Linked DNA regions of Homo sapiens: region 1 is linked to region 2. Evidence: promoter capture Hi-C in human tissues and cell types (Jung and others, 2019). All regions are on one chromosome and are shown on one strand. Each heading gives the region's core, a stretch centred on a gene start or on the middle of the fragment in contact. The rest is flanking DNA. Distances are from core to core; before and after follow the strand shown.

Evidence for each region. Contacts are between HindIII fragments. The study calls those that stand out against the background at their distance.
Region 1: a contact is called between a fragment that was not itself captured here and the fragment with the promoter of ZNF235 in region 2, in 4 of the 25 tissues and cell types used here (lymphoblastoid cells, pancreas, stomach and 1 more).

Annotation. Positions count from the first base shown.
Region 1 is chr19:44,243,307-44,246,580 of GRCh38, reverse strand. No RefSeq gene overlaps it. Among named protein-coding and RNA genes, the nearest start is that of ZNF233, 15 kb to the left of the region's middle. The HindIII fragment of the contact is 6,215 bases long and covers 1-3,274 here.
Region 2 is chr19:44,303,686-44,306,958 of GRCh38, reverse strand. It overlaps ZNF235 (zinc finger protein 235), which reads left to right and starts at 1,934. Exons shown (of 5, transcript NM_004234.4): 1 at 1,934-1,988. RefSeq lists enhancers at 20-519, 520-1,021, 1,598-2,151. The HindIII fragment of the contact is 12,168 bases long and covers 1-3,273 here.

The DNA of each region.
Region 1 (3,274 bases), core at 453-2,952, 60 kb after region 2:
AAAATTAAATGAGAATCAATAACAAAACAATCTCAGGAAAATCCCCCACTACCCTTAGAAATTAAATAACCCATGGGTCAAAAAAAACCCCATGAGTTAGAAGAGAAAAGGGAAAATAAGAAATAAAAATAAAAAGATAACATATCAGAACTTGTAGAATGCCACTAAGGCAGCATTTAGAGAAAAATTTAGAGCATGAAATGCTTATATTGGAAGAAAAGGAACTTACATCAATTATCTAAGCTTTTTTAAGCTTAATAAACTTTAAAAAAAAAAGCTGGGTGCAATGGTTCACACCTGTAATCCCAGGATTTGGGGGAGGCCAAGGCAGGAGAACTGCTTGAGCCCAGGAGTTTGAGACTAGCCTGGGTAACAGAGTGAGACCCTGTCTATGAAAAAAGAAAAACCCCTAAGCAAGAAAGAAGAAAACAACAAAAATGAAAGCAGAAATCAACCAAACGAAAAGGATAACAATAGTGAAGAAAAAGCAATAAACTTTGAAAAGAACAAGAAAACAAAACAGAAATTACCAATTGTAGGACTGAAAGAAGGATATGATTACAGATCCTAATGACAGGCCAGGTGCAGTGGCTCACGCCTGTAATCCCTGCACTTTGGGAGGCTGAGGCAGGTGGATCACTTCAGGGGTCAGGAGTTTGAGACCAGCCTGGCCAACATGGCAAAACCCCCTCTCTACTAAAAATACCAGCTACCCAGGAGGCTGAGGCAGGAGAATCACTTAAACCTGCCCCGGAGGCAAAGGGTGCTGTGAATGCAAGATTGTGCCACTGCACTCCAGCCTGGGAGACACACACACACACACACACACACACACACACACACACGCCAGATCCTAATGACATTAAAATGATAATAAGGAAATATTATGAACAACTTTATGCCATATGTGACAACCTAGATGAAATAGACAATGTATTTAAAAAAGAAAAACTACCAAAATTTATTCAAGAATAAACAGACATCCTGAATATTCCTATACCTATTAATGAGATTGAATTCAAGTTAAAACACCTCCAGAAACACCACCACCAGGCCTAAGCCTCTTATATGTACCAAACATTTAAGGGAAAAGAAACTACCAATTCTACACAAACATTTTGAGGAAAAAGAAGAAAATAAAGAGGAGAAAAACACTTCCCAACTCATTTTATAAGGCTAGCATTATCTTGTTACCAAAATTAGAAAAATGCATGAAGACAACAGATCAATATTCCTCATAAACATAGACACAAAATTCTTCAACAAATACCAGCAAGTCGAATATATGAAAATAATACTACATCATGATTAAGTAGGTTTATCTCAGGAATGCAATGTTGTTCGAACATTTTAAAATGAATGTTAAGTCACTATATTAATAGACTAAAGAACAAAAACTCTTCAATCATCTTAGTAGATGCAGAAAAAGCTCTTAGGGAAACAAGCAAAGAAACAGAAAACATATTGGAAAACAAGAAATAACTGTCTCCATTTGCATACAACATGATTATGTATAAAGAATGAAAAAGTTACCAGAACTAATAAATCAGTTTCAAAAGGTCCTGGGATGCAATGTTAATATACAATGTTAATATAAATAAGTTGCATTTCTATATACTATTATGAACAAATAGAAACTTACAACAGAACAAAATTTTCAGGAATTTTTTAAGTACAAGTCTAAGAAAACAGGCAATATCTGTGTACTGAAAAATACAAATCACTGATGAAATAAAAGACCTAAATAAGTGAAGAGACATGCCATTTTCACTGATTGGAAGACTAAAGAAGTCAAATCTTCCAACACACTTCCCATTAAAAGCCCTGCAAATATTCTTTAAAAGAATCAACAAGATGATTCTACAACTTACATGAAAAAGCAAAAGAACTAGAATAGCTAAAACAATTTTGAAAAAGCAAAGTTGGAAGACTCGTGCTACCTGATTTAGAGAGAATTACTATAAAGCTATGTTAGTAATCAAGAACAACTGGCTGTGTATGGTGAAGAGACAAAAAGATCAACGAGCTAGAATGGAGAGTTCAGAAATAGGCCCACTCATATACGGTCAATTGATTTTTGACAAAGACACAAAGTCAATTCAATGGAGAAAAGATCATTTTTTCAACAAATGGTGTTGGCATAACTGGACATCCATAGTTTTAAGATGAATAAACGTGTTTTGTATTATATATAAGTATTATCTAAAAATGGATCATACATCTGTATGTAAAACCTAAACTTGGCCAGGCATGGTGGCTCACGCCTGTAATCCCAGCACTTTGGGAGGCCGAGGTGGGTGGATCACGAGGTCAGGAGATCCAGACCATCCTGGCTAAAATGGTGAAACCCCGTCTCTACTAAAAATACAAAAAATTAGGTGGGCGTGGTGGTGGGCACCTGTAGTCCCAGCTACTCGGGAGGCTGAGGCAGGAGAATGGCGTGAACGCGGGAGGCGGAGCTTGCCGTGAGCCGAGATCGTGCCACTGCACTACAGCCTGGGCGACAGAGCGAGACTCCGTCTCAAAAAAAAAAAAAAAAAAAAACACCTAAACTTATAAAGTTAGCAGAAAACATAGGAGAAAGTCTTTGAGACCTTGGATTAGGCAAAGGTTTCTTAGATATGACACCAAAAGCATGATACATCAAAGAAAATTATGATAAACTAGACTTCATAAAAATTTTAAACTTCTGCTTAACCACAGACTGAGTGAAAAAATTTTGGAAATCACATGCCTGATAAAGCACTTGTATCAATAATATACAAAGAACCCACAAAACTCAATAAGAAAACAAGTAACCCAATAAAAAAATGGGCAAAGTATTTAAGTAGACTTTACCAAAGATATGATAATGGAAAACAGCACATGAAAAACATGTTTAGAAAAATGCAAATTAAAAACACAGTGAGATACTACTAGGGTAGAATGGCTAAAATTAAAAGAGACCGACCGTTACATATTTTGATGAAAATGTGAAGAAAAGATGCACACTGCTGGTGAAAACGTAAAACAGCACACCCACTTTGGAAAAGAGTGGAAATTCCTTAAAAAGTTAAACACGGGCAGGCACAGTGGCTCACGCCTGTAATCCCAGCACTTTGGGAGGCTGAGGCAGGTGGATCACAAGATCTGGAGTTCGTGACCAACCTGGCCAGCACGGTGAAACCCCATCTCTACTAAAAATATAAAAAATTAGCAAGGCATGGTGCCACATGCCTGTAGTCCCAGCTACTCAGGAGGCTGAGGCAGGAGAATTGCTTGAACCCCGCAGGCC
Region 2 (3,273 bases), core at 685-3,184:
CACATTTAAAATAAATGAAGTTCAAGATATTTCTCTGGCTTAATATTTATATTGCCTTTTTGTGGGTTCTTAGTATATTAGAACGAATAGCACATTAAACAAAACACTGTCATGAGCCCTTAGGTACCTTGAGGAATAATGGAGGGAAAAGAGTCAAACACTTTACTCCCTTCTCTCCTTGTCACCGACCCCTAAATATACACAACTTGGACACTAAGGACTAAAACTCCATCCTCTTTCCCTGCCCCTCACTGATACGGAAGAGGGGAATGGAAGTGCTGGAGGGGAGAAGGGTGTGGTCCCTGACTAGGGCTCTACCCCCAGGCCTGTGGCCACGGACCTAGGTGAGGACAGGCATTCCTGCCTTTGTGCCCAAATATTGCATTTCCCAAGACCACCCTGGCCCACCACGCCCCCATCCTGTGCCTATAAAAACCCTGATACCCTAGCAGGCAGAGACACAAGCTGCTGGACGTTGAGAGGAGAGCATTGGCGGACACACAAACAGCTGGCTGTCGAGAGGCTGTCGAGGGGAGCGGGTCGGCAAAAGAGCACACTGAAGAGACCGGCAGGCCAGCAGGCCATTAACCGGTGGAATAACGCAGTTTGGCCTGGGTAGTCGGAGGAGCGCCCAGGCCGCTGAGAGGCTGACTCCAGGCGAAAACCATCTCCCTTCTGGCTCCCCCTTCTGCTGAGAGCTACTTACAAATCGTTCTCCAAGGTTTCTCCAATCCTTGCACTCTTTCTCCAAGCCTATGTGTGATGCGATTCTTCTGGTACACCAAGGCAAGAACCTCTGGGATACAGAAAGCCCTCTCTTGCTTGCGATAAGTCAGGGGTCTAATTGAGCTAACACAAGCCTCCTACAGATGGCTGAACTAAAAAAGCACCCTATAACACACGCCCACTGGGGCTTCAGGAGCTGTAAACATTCACCCCTAGACACTGCCGTGGGGTTGGAGCCCTACAACCTGCCCGTGTGCATGCTCCCCTAGAGGTTTGAGCGGCTGGGCACGAAGAAGCGAGCCACACCCCATCACATGCCCTGGGAGAGGGAGAAGTGAACTTTTCCCGTTTCATCACAATTTACTTTCGGCACTAACATGATTGTTCAGCTGTCTTCATCAGCAGGCCTTTATTCCAGGAGATTCCTGCCCAAGCAAACTGTTTAATTGTTCATTATGGGAACTTCCACAGAGACCCATCAAATTTTCAATCTCTTCCAAAGAAAGTGTCAATAGATTGCAATTTAAGATTCTTTGCTTCAAAAATCCTTGCTATATCCACCAATCCTGGACTGTAGTATCATGATCATTATGCAATACTAATAAAATCCCTTGCATTGAAAGACCCGCCTTAAACATCCAGTTCTCAATCAGTTCCAACCTTGCCTTGACACTTTGCTCTGTGAAGGTGCCAACGCTCCGTCGAAGTGTTGTTCTCCATTACTGCAATCAACAATAAATTCTGTTTTTTGTCTTATCAACAGGTTGAGTTGATGATATTTGGGGAGCCGGCATTTGACACAAGTTTGAGATCTGGTGTTCCTTAACGTTCAGCGTCCATCGGAGCTCAGCCTAAGTCACTTTTACGCTTCCCATTTTAGCCTACCCTCTGCTTCTGCGAAAAATTTTGGTTTCTAACTTATTTTAATAATACAAGCTGCACTTTTCATTTTTATATGTCATCACTTTAAAAATTTTACAATTATTTTCTCATGAGCTTTTAAAAATGAATAAAACAAAAACGAATCTCACAGTAGTAGCACCAGAGAAGTGGCTCAAACCCAACCGGCTTGAGTCAAAACAAAGCCCAGCTGGTGGGAAGCGCTGCCCTTGGAGCATTCTGGGAACTGTAGTCCAGGAGTGAGAGAACTCTGAGACGCTTCCGCTTAGGAATTCTGGGAAGTGGAGTCCACGAACCGTGGGCACTCGGAGGCACTTCCGCTCCAGGAAGGCGAGGTCGGATCTGAGATATCTCCCAGGGAGGTGAGTCAGCTCCGGGTCTCCAAGACTTCTCCGAGCCCTCTTTGCCTAGGCGTGGGGCCAGCAATGAACCCGTCCTTGGCTTGGGGAAGAGAAGCCGCGGCCAGCGCTGGAGGGCGGGGTTGGGAGGCTGCGGGAGTTTGCGTCCCCTCGGCAGAACCTCTTGCGTGGGAGGCGGGCTCGCGTCGTCCTTCGAGGTTGAGGGTCTGCTGCCCTAGCCGTCCTCACGCACCTACCAGCCAGTCCTGCCTGCTCCTCGCAGTAAAATATTGGGCAAGTTACTTAATCTCTCCTTGTCTCAGTTTCCTCGTGCCTGTAAAGGGTTAGTGCGTTCCCAGTGATGTTCTTGTGAGAATTAAATGAGGTTTTATAGAAATAAGCTTAAAACCAGTGCATAGGAAAATGTTGGATGCCACCGTTAATTCTGTTATAATACTGAAAAAGACGCCTGTTGTTTGGAAACTCCTCTGAGTCTAGGAGATCCAGCTACGGAGCCGCTGTCCCTTCTCTAATCCTTGCCTGATGTGGGGCCGTTCCTGGATTCTTGGACTTTTCTAGCCTCTTGTTTAGGAGACAGGAATTAGTTCCAGCGGAGCCTGGGGAATGTCCTGTGTGTTTTATCTCAGATAAGCGATCGTCATTACGGATTTGCAGAGTGCCAGAGGTGTCCTGAGGCCCTAATAAATGTTCAGTATAATGTGGTTATAACCAATAATCCCGTGTGGTTAACTTAAGTGTAACACCATTTCTTAGAGAGTTTTAGGTTTTTATTAGTCATTGCTTTCATGCATGTGGAAAAAGAGACTTTCTTGAGGCTCCTCCAGCTTAGTAACATTTGCAAGTAATTACATCTGTTGGAGGAAAAAAAAACCTGTGGCAGTTTAACTATCATTACCAACGGAACTAATTATGTTAGACAACCAATCACAGTTACAGACTTTTCTGAGGGTAATGGTAACTCACAGGACAGAGCAATTATTTTTGAGTTCTGGGTTTCTTAAAAGATTCATTTTCTAGAAAGCATACTCAAAAGGGCAGTTTTATGAAGCATAATAGCACTTGCTTGTCAGAAGCTGCAGGAAATAGAGAATACAGGCATTATTATTGTCCCCATTCACAGGTAACTGAATTAAGGCACAGAGAGATTAATAATTCGCTTAAGGTTTATACTGCTGATCAGTTGAAAATAGGTAGAAATGCCAAAATTTGAAGCCAGGCATTTTGGCTCTGTTACATTCCCCTGCCTGTCTGTGTCTCATTTCCTTGGAAACTAAAGTTCAGAAGGAGT